Regions from separate parts of the Homo sapiens genome. Here regions 1 and 2 are each linked to region 3. Evidence: promoter capture Hi-C in 16 types of primary human blood cells and fetal thymus (Javierre and others, 2016). All regions are on one chromosome and are shown on one strand. Each heading gives the region's core, a stretch centred on a gene start or on the middle of the fragment in contact. The rest is flanking DNA. Distances are from core to core; before and after follow the strand shown. Region 1 overlaps PIP5K1B (phosphatidylinositol-4-phosphate 5-kinase type 1 beta). Region 2 overlaps PIP5K1B (phosphatidylinositol-4-phosphate 5-kinase type 1 beta). Region 3 holds the start of PRKACG (protein kinase cAMP-activated catalytic subunit gamma).

What was found. Contacts are between HindIII fragments. The CHiCAGO score rates a contact against its expected background, and 5 or more counts as called.
Region 1: a fragment that was not itself captured here is called in contact with the fragment with the promoter of PRKACG in region 3 in 1 of 17 cell types (erythroblasts); the score reaches 5.7 in erythroblasts.
Region 2: a fragment that was not itself captured here is called in contact with the fragment with the promoter of PRKACG in region 3 in 2 of 17 cell types (megakaryocytes and erythroblasts); the score reaches 7.0 in megakaryocytes.

What each region holds. Positions count from the first base shown.
Region 1 is chr9:68,869,094-68,872,642 of GRCh38, reverse strand. All of the region lies in intron 5 of PIP5K1B (phosphatidylinositol-4-phosphate 5-kinase type 1 beta), which reads right to left. Among named protein-coding and RNA genes, the nearest start is that of PABIR1, 91 kb to the right of the region's middle. RefSeq lists an enhancer at 1-501. The HindIII fragment of the contact is 443 bases long and covers 1,504-1,946 here.
Region 2 is chr9:68,809,628-68,813,050 of GRCh38, reverse strand. All of the region lies in intron 2 of PIP5K1B (phosphatidylinositol-4-phosphate 5-kinase type 1 beta), which reads right to left. Among named protein-coding and RNA genes, the nearest start is that of PABIR1, 31 kb to the right of the region's middle. The HindIII fragment of the contact is 2,208 bases long and covers 1,069-3,276 here.
Region 3 is chr9:69,012,788-69,016,391 of GRCh38, reverse strand. PRKACG (protein kinase cAMP-activated catalytic subunit gamma) reads left to right here and starts at 2,279. Exons shown (of 1, transcript NM_002732.4): 1 at 2,279-3,604. The coding sequence starts at 2,300. The coding sequence ends at 3,355. The HindIII fragment of the contact is 8,295 bases long and covers 1-3,604 here.

The DNA of each region.
Region 1 (3,549 bases), core at 476-2,975, 140 kb after region 3:
TAACTGGAGCTGGACACTGAAAAAAAGGCACAGGGACAAAAGGAACTCTTCACAGTATTCCTTTTAAGAACAGGACAAGCCTTGCTGTGTATTATCATTCACAAAATTAAATAAATTTAAAAAGTTAGAGGTTAAAAGCCATAAACTGATTCCTCTTCCCCCAAACTGAGCCCTCCGTGCTCAGCACCACAGCAGAAGGTTTGTTTACCTCTGCATATTTAAGCTGTTCCAATGAATAACAAATACCAGCTTGACATGAATGAAGCTCTAGTGAAGGAAATGCAAATTAATGAGATCGCTGGCCCCTGCTGGGCCCGGATATTTGTCAGGGGAGCACGAGTGCAGAGAACAAAACAGCAAGTCCAGTGAAGGTCAGCCAGCAGGCAACAACCTTGGTTCTCTGAGGCCCCACGCTGGCACATTTACTGTGTGTAGATGTGGGTGCCAGCCCACAGGCGTTCAGCACAGAATCTCCACAGCACAGGTACCAAGTGCTTAGCAACTTCCACCATGGCAGAACTGCCAACATTCAAACACAATGACCGCAATCAACGTTTGCCTCCTGAAGTCCACAGGCTTTCCTTGCTTGAGACTGGAGTTACCTGTTGAGTAACTGTGCTCAGCATCCAGACTTAGCAAAAATGAAGTCAGAAAAAGAGTAGAACTCCTCACAGTTTAAGATTTACCTTATATTTCTTCAATGCACTTATGTAGGGTGTGGAAAAAAAAAAAAAACACCCGACAACTGACTTTCTTGTCTTGGCGTAAGTTGAAGCTTTGGAAATCTCAGCTATGGGGTTTTGAGCAGTGGTTCTAGATGCTTGGATCCCATGGGCCAGTAAAATTTCGACAACAAAAGTTTGGAATCCAACCTTGGATTTCCAAATTTATTTTGCCAAGTAAGAACCTAAACAATTAAGCAAGCACACGTTACAATCCCTATCACATCAGGGCATTTTTAGCTCCAAAAAAGGAGAAAGAAATTTCAAATAAAGAACAGAAGTTTCTCTGTCCTCTTCCCCACTTATTCACTAAGAAGCAGTTAAAGTTCAATCACAGACCAGCTCTGGCATTCTGATATTCACCTCTTCTGAGGCAAGTTCATTTTTAAGGCCAAAGCTACTGCTTGTCTTAGTCTAAAAATACATATATCTTAATGGCAACGTATGTTCAGAATTACACAATGTTGAAGCTTGAGGAAGCATTAGCCGCCATCTGGAATTCCCCATTTAGCAGATAAATCATAGTCCAGGGAGGGAAAACAATGGCCCAAACTGATCAGGAACAAACAAGATTGGGAGATTAGACTCACATCAGAACAGCAGAAAAGTCATAAGCAGATAGGAATGGCTTAACTTAGACTTGACGTTCCTCTGTTATTCCTCCTTTTCAGGATTCTGTTACAAGTTTCAGGGGTTTCTCCCTGCCCAAATATCCCAATTACTTCCACATGAGGCCTTCACACCACAGGGGCTGGTGGGTAGAATTTCACTTACAGAAGCTTTGGTCAGTTGGTGTTCTCCTCTCTATGTACTAATAACAACACAGCTTTGTTTATGGGGTTTTAGAGCCTGATGACCAAGTGCTAGTTTTGGTGGCACTGGACTGAGAGATGTGGTGGTAAGCAATGGGGTAAAACTAATTTAGCATCTCAAAGACAACACAAGGGGACCAGTTTTGGAGCTGAGACTCAGAGCTTTCTTGCCTCTAGAGCAGCATTTTCCATTTAGTGAGCTTTGTTTATTTCAAATTGTAACCAAACCATCAATAGTGGCTCTGAGGACTTTTGACAAAACTAGTACTTACGCAACTCCTGGGTGATAGTGGTCAGTGTCGCTAAAGGATGCTAAATGCCCTCACTTGTATTCAACAAACATGACCTTACCCTCTGTATGACAGGATAAATGAAGGGTGCTTTGTCTTGATGTGCAGACATTAGGAAAGCTTAAGTGGCACTACAGTTGGGTGAATGCCACTACAATCCAGTAACAAACTACTGATGGTACCCAGTCTTCAAGTTGGACCTTCGTACACAGCAGTCTGTAAAAGCGGCCTTAAGGTATTATTAATTGCCTCTGCCAATTCAGCCAAGGTGGATATCCCTTGGTTTCCACATACAATTCTTTACGTAACTAGAGAGAGAGAGACAGAAATTGGTCCTCTTTTTTGCCAAATTAGAGAGTGCTCATGAATGGAAAAACAAAACAAAGCAAAACAAAAGACACATTCCTTGCTGGTGCCAACCTCCTGTTGCTGAGCAGTTCTGTGATGGGTACACATGAACTGCATTGTATAAGACGAGGCTGCACCATCTTCAGAGACCAACCAGCTGACAGCCAATCTGTAAAAGTCAGCATCTGAAGACAGCTTAAATTCCCCAACCAAACAGTGCATTCCGGGATGTCATTTACTGGGAACATGTGACATCATCGGTTATATAAACATTAAACCATCCAAGAAGTTATTACCATACTGGAAAACCGTGCTTGAAGATAACTTCAAATAAAGTAGAATATTGTATAATATCCAGTGCATGCAATAAATCCTTTGAGCTAAAGGAAGAGGTATATGGCTTTTAGTAATAGGAAATCAGTTTCTCCCCATCCTCACCAAATACACGCTGAACAAAGACATAAAGAGTTTTGATTTGAAGGAGCATCATATTATGGCTTGCCCAGCAGCAGTCACTTCTCATTTTCTCCCAAGAAGACTAAGCTGGCAGCTTTGTCTTCTACCCACATGTACATAAAAACTGGTGCAGAATGTTTGTATAGATCAGGAGTTGGTAATCTTTTTCTTTTTTATTTATTTTTATTTTTATTAAATATAAAGAGATGAGGTCTCACTATATTGCCCAGGCTGCTTTCAAACTCTTGAGCTCATGTGATCTTCCCACCTCGGCCTCCCAAAGTGCTGGGATTACGGGCGTGAGCCACTGCAGCCAGCCTTGGCAATCTTTTTCTATAAAGGGCCAGATAATATTTCGAGCTCTGTGGGCCATACAGTCTCTGTAGCAATTACTCAACTCTGCAGCCATTGTAGATAGCAGCCGCAGACAATTTGTAAATGAATGGATGTGGCTTTATTCCAATTAAACCTTATTTACAAAAACGGGCAGTTAGCGGGGCCTGTCCCATGGGCTGTTGTATGCTGACCCACATGATATAAGACAGTGGTCCCCAACCTTTTTGGCACCAGGGACCAGTTTTGTGGAAGACAATTTTTCCACAGACAGTGGAAATGGGGGGATGGTTTTGGGATGAAACTGTTCCATCTCAGATCATCGGGCATTACATTCTCATAAGGAGCAAACAACCTAGATCCCTTGTATGCACAGTTCACTACAGGGTTTGTGCTCCTATGAGAATCTAATGCTGCCAGTGATCTGACAGGAGGCGGAGCTCGCCCTTGTAATACTTGCTTGCCCTCTGCTCACCTCCTGCTGTGCTGCTGGTTTCCTAACAAGCCATGGACTGGTACTTGTCCACAGCCCAGGGATTGGGAATCCCTGGTATAAGATGGACTCTTGGATAAGTTTATGTCATTATG
Region 2 (3,423 bases), core at 923-3,422, 200 kb after region 3:
ACTGTATTGCTTACTGCTTACTTCCCACTTTGTAGATGAGTAGTTTCATGTTAGTCTGATGCTCCCTGCGCTAGAAGCATGCTGGTTTTCTCTGTCTGGAAACCTCTGAGGGTCTTCTCTTTTAACATTGTTCAAAATTCCATAATGATAGATGTGCCTTTTTTCATTCATCTTCCCCAGTAAAGAGAAACTGACAAGAAGTAAATACGTGGAGATCCAAATAGGAAGCTATGTGATAACCTGACTTAAACCACAAATAGAATTTAGGTTATCTCAATGAGGAATGAACAGGCTGCATATCTTTCAGGCAGTCCTCCATGAATATTATTTCTCCTAACCAGTCTTTTGATAAGAATTGGACAGTGGAGTACTCAAAGTTGTAGTCTCTGGCAAGAGCCTGGAATGCAGAAATTCCAATGGCCAAGTAAGGACATACTCACAAGGTTCATGTCTCCTTAGAAGATGTTACTATGTAATCTGACACAAGAGTCCTAGTTAAAACTTATTTTCAAAAATTATTTCTGATATGAAAGAGAGCTAACCTATGGTGTCATATGATTGGACTGTTTAGCACCAGCTCAGTGAGCAATAATATGTGCCAGACAATGACTTTTTTTTGACTATGTAGTTACTTATCTATTATTTCTGGTATTTAGTATCTGGATTCTGTGACCTTAAGGAATAAATAATTTATACTATTTCATAGCTTTCTATAGTTCTATGTTTTCACTCAATTTGAGAGAAGGGAAGATCATGTATTGAGCAACTACGATGTGTGAAATGCTGCCACATATGTGATTTCATTTATTCTTCAAAGAATCCGTTGGCACTCCCCAATTTAACATGTGCTATTTTGACACTTGTAAGTGTCCTATAAAGTCCATGGGATGCAGTCATTTTAATTTTGCTGAGCTGGGCTCTCTTGCTGTGAGGCTGGTTTGTAAAAGTGACGCCCTTAGTTGGTGAATGAACCTAGCAACCATCCATTCCCACCCCACGCACCTCCATCTCAGCCTGGCTTTGCCATTCTCTAAATCAGTGCTGGGCATTACAACCACCAGGGAAGCTTTTTGAAAATTCAGCTTCTGGGGCCACACACTGAAACCAGGGAATCACTACCTCTGCGTGGTAGACCTAGGGAGTCAGTATTTTCAGCACGCTTCACAGGCTTGGGATCATCTAAGCTACTGTGACCAGAAAAGGCAATAAAGAGAGTTTATCACTTCAGGATTGCTTTCAGGGTCTATTAGGGAAAACAGAAACCACTTTGGGTATATTAAAGAGGGGATATTTAATACATGGAATTGGTTATAAAAGTGATGGGTGAACTGAAAAGCTAAGCAAGAGATGGTGATGAAACAGATCACAATCAACATGATGCCACTATTGCTTTTAGGGCTGCAGGCACAAGAGAAGGTGGTGTTAACAGACCTCAAAAGCAGAGGTCAGCTGGGGTCAGAACATCAGGACGGGGGTTGACTGGCAGAAGTTGGAACTGCAGTAGGAGGGGTATGTTTAGAAGCATGGAGAAGACAGTCACTATTGGAGATGCCACCTAAGACACACAGGTTGGGGGAGAACATCCTGGTTTTTCTCATCTACCTTCTACCCGCCAATCCCTGTCTATGGCTCCCAGAGACCAACCTCATGAAAAGCATCTGAGCCCATAGGAAGCCTGAGAAATGCATCCTATATGGGATGACTTCCCTGTGATACAGAACACAGGAAGAGTAAGGAATGGCTCTAAGGACAAACGACCCAATGATGGGCCATAAAACAAAACAGAAAGTATAATGAAAGTGGGAAAGCAGTAGGGGAATAAGCCTGAGAAACATGATTCTCAATGGAAATGTGGATTGGGAGGTAGGCTAGGAACTGGTACACACGTTTCTATTGTTATAGCTCTGGGAATCCGTTAAGAGCTTAAATAGATCACTACCAAGTAGTCAGGGTCTACTGCAGCCCCTGCATTAAGTCTAGGAGGAAGGAGAGGAGCGAGGTTGTGACTTGGGATGATTTTCCTGGAGTCCAGTCAAGTGGTAGGGCTGAGATTTGATCCAGGGTTGTCTGACTTCAAAACTAATGCTCTTTCCACCATACACCTCTCTCTTTTACTTGTTTTCTCCTACTTAAAAACAATGAGAAGATTGTCTAATCAATATTGCACCGCATTTTTCAATTTGTAAGTGCAATCAAAAGGTTAGCCAATTATATTAATTTACATAATTTTTTCCTATAAAACTTGTTCTACATCAGTAAGCCTCAACCCAGAGGGCATGTCTTAATTGAAAAGGTGGTAGAGGAGCTTTTTAAAACTCTATAGTTACCGAAAGTTTTAGATATATTGTGCCTGGGGGCCATATGTGAGTCAGAAGCAACCCTTTCAACCTCTAATTCCCCAACTAGGGCCATAAAACTCAGTATTTTTAATTTGCCACAGATGAGTTTGCTTCTCATACATGGCCAAATAAGTGGGAGAATTGCTAATTACCTAATCACTTAACTAAGTAGGCCAATCTGTAGACACAAGAGGTTAAGGGACACTAGCCACGAGTCCTTACTCATCTTCCCATAAAAACAAACACTTTATTAAACACTGATAAAGTGAAGCAACAAGAATGAATTGGAAGAACGCTGGGATAGGCCTCCGAAGGCCTGGGTTTCATGTCCATCTCTGCTGCTGTCCACTTCTCTTCGATTATGAATTGCGCTAACTCCATTAGATAGTGCTTTTGTTTTGGTGCCTCTGCCAAGTTTCTTAGGTAGGGCCTCACTTCAAATCCTCTTTGGAATGAGGAGAGGACTCATTGATTATTTGGTCATTATGAGTGCAACTTGCCCTATGGGAATTGGGCTTCCAATAGGATAGCCATATTCAAATATTTTCATGCCATTCAGGCTGTGTATGTTAACATTTCCTAGCGCATTTCCCGAAAGACAAAGCAATTGGAAGATAATTTGGGCCTTGGTCACACCTGCATGTTAAAGTCAATCATTTTTGTTTTATTTATGCTCTTTTGAATTCATTTTTATTACCTAACACCAAATAAATTCACTCTTTCATTCATTCAATGAACATTTATGGAGCATAACATGTCAGGCAGTAAGCTAGGCCCGGGGCCATAATGACAAGGACAGGTACTCGTCTTCAAAGGAATCCTATTAGCAGGAGAGACAGGCATTGCAGTGGCTACAATTTACAATGTGGCATGTCCTTTACTCTGGGTTTTTGGAGGAGGAACTGCATAAGTCAGCCTGTGGGGCTCATGGAAAGCTTCACTTATGAAGAACACTGAAATTGGACTTAGAGCCGTTTGCTGGGGACATAAGGTTGAGAGCTAGAGGGTGGAAAAGAGTCTGGGCACCGTGTTGGCTTGCTTACAAAAAGACCCAGCACCGTGAAGGGTATTTAAATTTTCATGG
Region 3 (3,604 bases), core at 1,030-3,529:
TGTCCCACTTCCAAGGCGTCGGTCCAAGAGAATGGCTTCCCACTAATTGCTCTTTGTGTATAAATTTCTACTGAATAATCTGGAGGTAAGTCAGAAATGGGCAGAATTTTAGCAGATCTACTGTGATGAAAATGAAGAGGAAATCACTGAGATTATGGGGGAGACGTGGAATTTCCATCTGCCAGGGATTTGCCTTGACCCAAAGCACAAGGGGCAATTGACCCCCCTGCTATGTTCTTGAGGGAATGTGGGTTTCCCTTTTGTGGAAGTTCAGATGATCAACAGTAGATTTTTCTCCTTTCCTCTTCTTCCTCTCTAACCTGACCGTCTCTGAATATACAGTCAGTACCCAAGTACTGGCCCCAGATTAAACCGTAAACTCGGAACCAGGCCTTGCACACAATAGACACCTGCTTGACCAACATCTGCTGAACTGAGCGGCAAGAATTCACAGTCACAATAGAAACCTTCTACTTGGAGTCAAGTAATCAGGGATTCCTCTCCAATTTGCTTGGTTTCAGCCTGCAGGGCTAGGTGAAAGTGTGTTGTTTACTTGCACTAGCTACAGGCGGTGTAGCCAGGGTGGGTAGGCAGAATTAGCTGTCAAACTTAAAGGGCAAGATGGAGAGAAAATAGGAGGATAAATGGGTATTCCTGTAGCTCAGTGTTTATGATGTAGGACAGAATCTTTGTACAGAATTGACTGGGGAGAGCAGCTCAGAACCCACCCTGTGATGGCTGAGTGCTGGCAGTCTTCTGGAGGGTGTGTGGGGCGGCTGACATGGTGGCCTGGGGGAGTGATGGAAGGCCCATCATCTATGTACTTTGACTTCTCATAAACTCCTGTGGCATGTTTTTAATAATTGATAGAATAAGTAAACAGAAAGTCAATAAGAATATAGAAGACCTGAACACTACTACTAGCCAACTTGACCTAAGTGACATTTGTAGAACACTGTATCCTCAAACAGCAGAATACACCAGAATATACATTCTTCTCAAGTGCATATGGGCCATCTACCAAGATAGATCATATTCTGGGCCATAAAATGAGCCCCAAGAAGTGTAAAACATTTTAGGTCACACAGAGTATGTTTTCTAACAATGGAATTAAATCAGAAATCAATAGGAAAATTCTTGAAAAATCCCCAAGTATTTGGAAACGAAATAATATACTTTTAAATAGCTTATCTGTCAAAGAAGATGAAAAGGGAGCTTAGAAAATATTTTGAGCTGGATGAAAAGGAAAATACAACATACCAAAATTTGTGGGATGCTGCAAAAAATAATACTTAGGAGGAAATTTATAGCACTAAGTGATTGTAATAGAAGAAAGATTTCAAATCAGTGACCTTAGTTCCCACCTTAGGAAATAAGAGCAATTAAACCCAAAGCAAACAGAAGAAAGGAAATCATATGTATGTGTTAAAATAAAACATTACATGCAGTAAAACTGAATTTTGGGGGGAAGTATACAGTTCTTTGAGGTGTTTGTTTGTTTGTTTGTTTGTTTTTGAGATGGAGTTTCACTCTTATTGCCCAGGCTGGTGTGCAGTGGCACGATCTCTGCTCACTGCAACCTCTGCCTCCCAGGTTCAAGCAATTCTCCTGCCTCAGCCTCCCGAGTAGCTGGGATTACAGGCATGCGCCACCACGCCTGGCTAATTTTTTTGTATTTTTAGTAGAGACGGGGTTTCACTATGGTGGTCAGGCTGGTTTCGAACTCCTGACCTTGTGATCCGCCCGCCTCGGCCTCCCAAAGTGTTGGGATTACAGGCTTTAGCCACTGCGCCCGGCCAGTTCTATGAGTTTTAAAACAAATGTAGACCACCACCCAATACATTGTAACCACCAGCACAATCAGGATACAAACATGTCCCACCACTTCCCACATTCCCTCAGGCTGTCCCTTCATAGTCCAACCGTCCCCTAACCCCAAGCCCTGGCAATCACTGATCTGTTCTCTCACACTATAGTTTTGCCTTTTCTGGAATGTCATAGAAATGGATTCATACAGTAAGTCTCCTTTAGAGTTGGCTTCTCTCACTTGCATAATGCCTTTTGGATTTATCCATATTGTTGAGTGCAGCGGCGTGATCTTGGCTCACTGAAGCCTTGACCTCCCAGGCTCAAGAAATCCTCCCATCTCAGCCTCCCATGTAGCTGGGAATATAAGCGGAGGCCGGGCGGGGGTCGCAGCGCCGCAGCCAGCGCAGCCAGCCCCAGGGGGCGCCATCTCCGCCGCTGCCGCCGCCGCCGCCGCCGCCGCGAGACCCCCGCCCCTGCCGCCGCCACCGCCATGGGCAACGCCCCCGCCAAGAAGGACACCGAGCAGGAGGAGAGCGTGAACGAGTTCCTAGCCAAAGCCAGAGGAGATTTCCTCTACAGATGGGGAAACCCCGCTCAAAACACCGCCAGCTCGGATCAGTTCGAACGGCTCAGGACGCTGGGCATGGGCTCCTTCGGGCGGGTGATGCTGGTGAGGCACCAGGAGACCGGCGGCCACTACGCCATGAAGATCCTCAACAAGCAGAAGGTGGTGAAGATGAAGCAGGTCGAGCACATACTGAACGAGAAGCGCATCCTGCAGGCGATCGACTTTCCGTTCCTCGTCAAGCTCCAGTTCTCCTTTAAGGACAACTCCTACCTGTACCTGGTGATGGAGTACGTGCCGGGTGGGGAGATGTTCTCCCGCCTACAGCGCGTCGGAAGGTTTAGCGAGCCCCATGCCTGTTTCTATGCCGCCCAGGTCGTCCTGGCCGTCCAGTACCTACACTCGCTCGACCTCATCCACCGCGACCTGAAGCCCGAGAATCTCCTCATCGACCAGCAGGGCTACCTGCAGGTGACGGACTTCGGTTTCGCCAAGCGCGTGAAGGGCCGCACTTGGACCTTGTGCGGGACCCCAGAGTACCTGGCCCCCGAGATCATCCTGAGCAAAGGCTACAACAAGGCCGTGGACTGGTGGGCCCTAGGGGTGCTCATCTATGAGATGGCCGTGGGCTTCCCACCCTTCTACGCCGACCAGCCCATCCAGATCTACGAGAAGATCGTCTCTGGGAGGGTGCGGTTTCCCTCCAAACTCAGCTCTGACCTCAAGCATCTGCTGCGGAGCCTGCTGCAGGTGGACCTCACCAAGCGCTTCGGAAACCTCAGGAACGGGGTTGGCGACATCAAGAACCACAAGTGGTTCGCCACAACCAGCTGGATCGCCATCTATGAGAAGAAGGTGGAAGCTCCCTTCATCCCGAAGTACACAGGCCCTGGGGATGCCAGTAACTTTGACGACTACGAGGAGGAAGAGCTCCGGATCTCCATCAATGAGAAGTGTGCCAAGGAGTTTTCTGAGTTTTAGGGGTGTGCTTGTGCCCCTGTGGGTTTTCTTTCCTTTTTGTTTTTGGTGGTTTGGGGGATGGGAGGGTTGGATTGAACAGCCAGAGGGCCCCAGAGTTCCTTGTATCTAATTTCATCCTCACCCCACCCTCCAGGGTTGGGGGAGCAGGAAGCCCAGATATTTGGAGGAACAGAAACACCAGCTGCTCCCTCACCCCCCCCCATGCCTTCCTGGTCCCTCTGTGCTTCTCTCTTTCTCCTCCCACAGGGT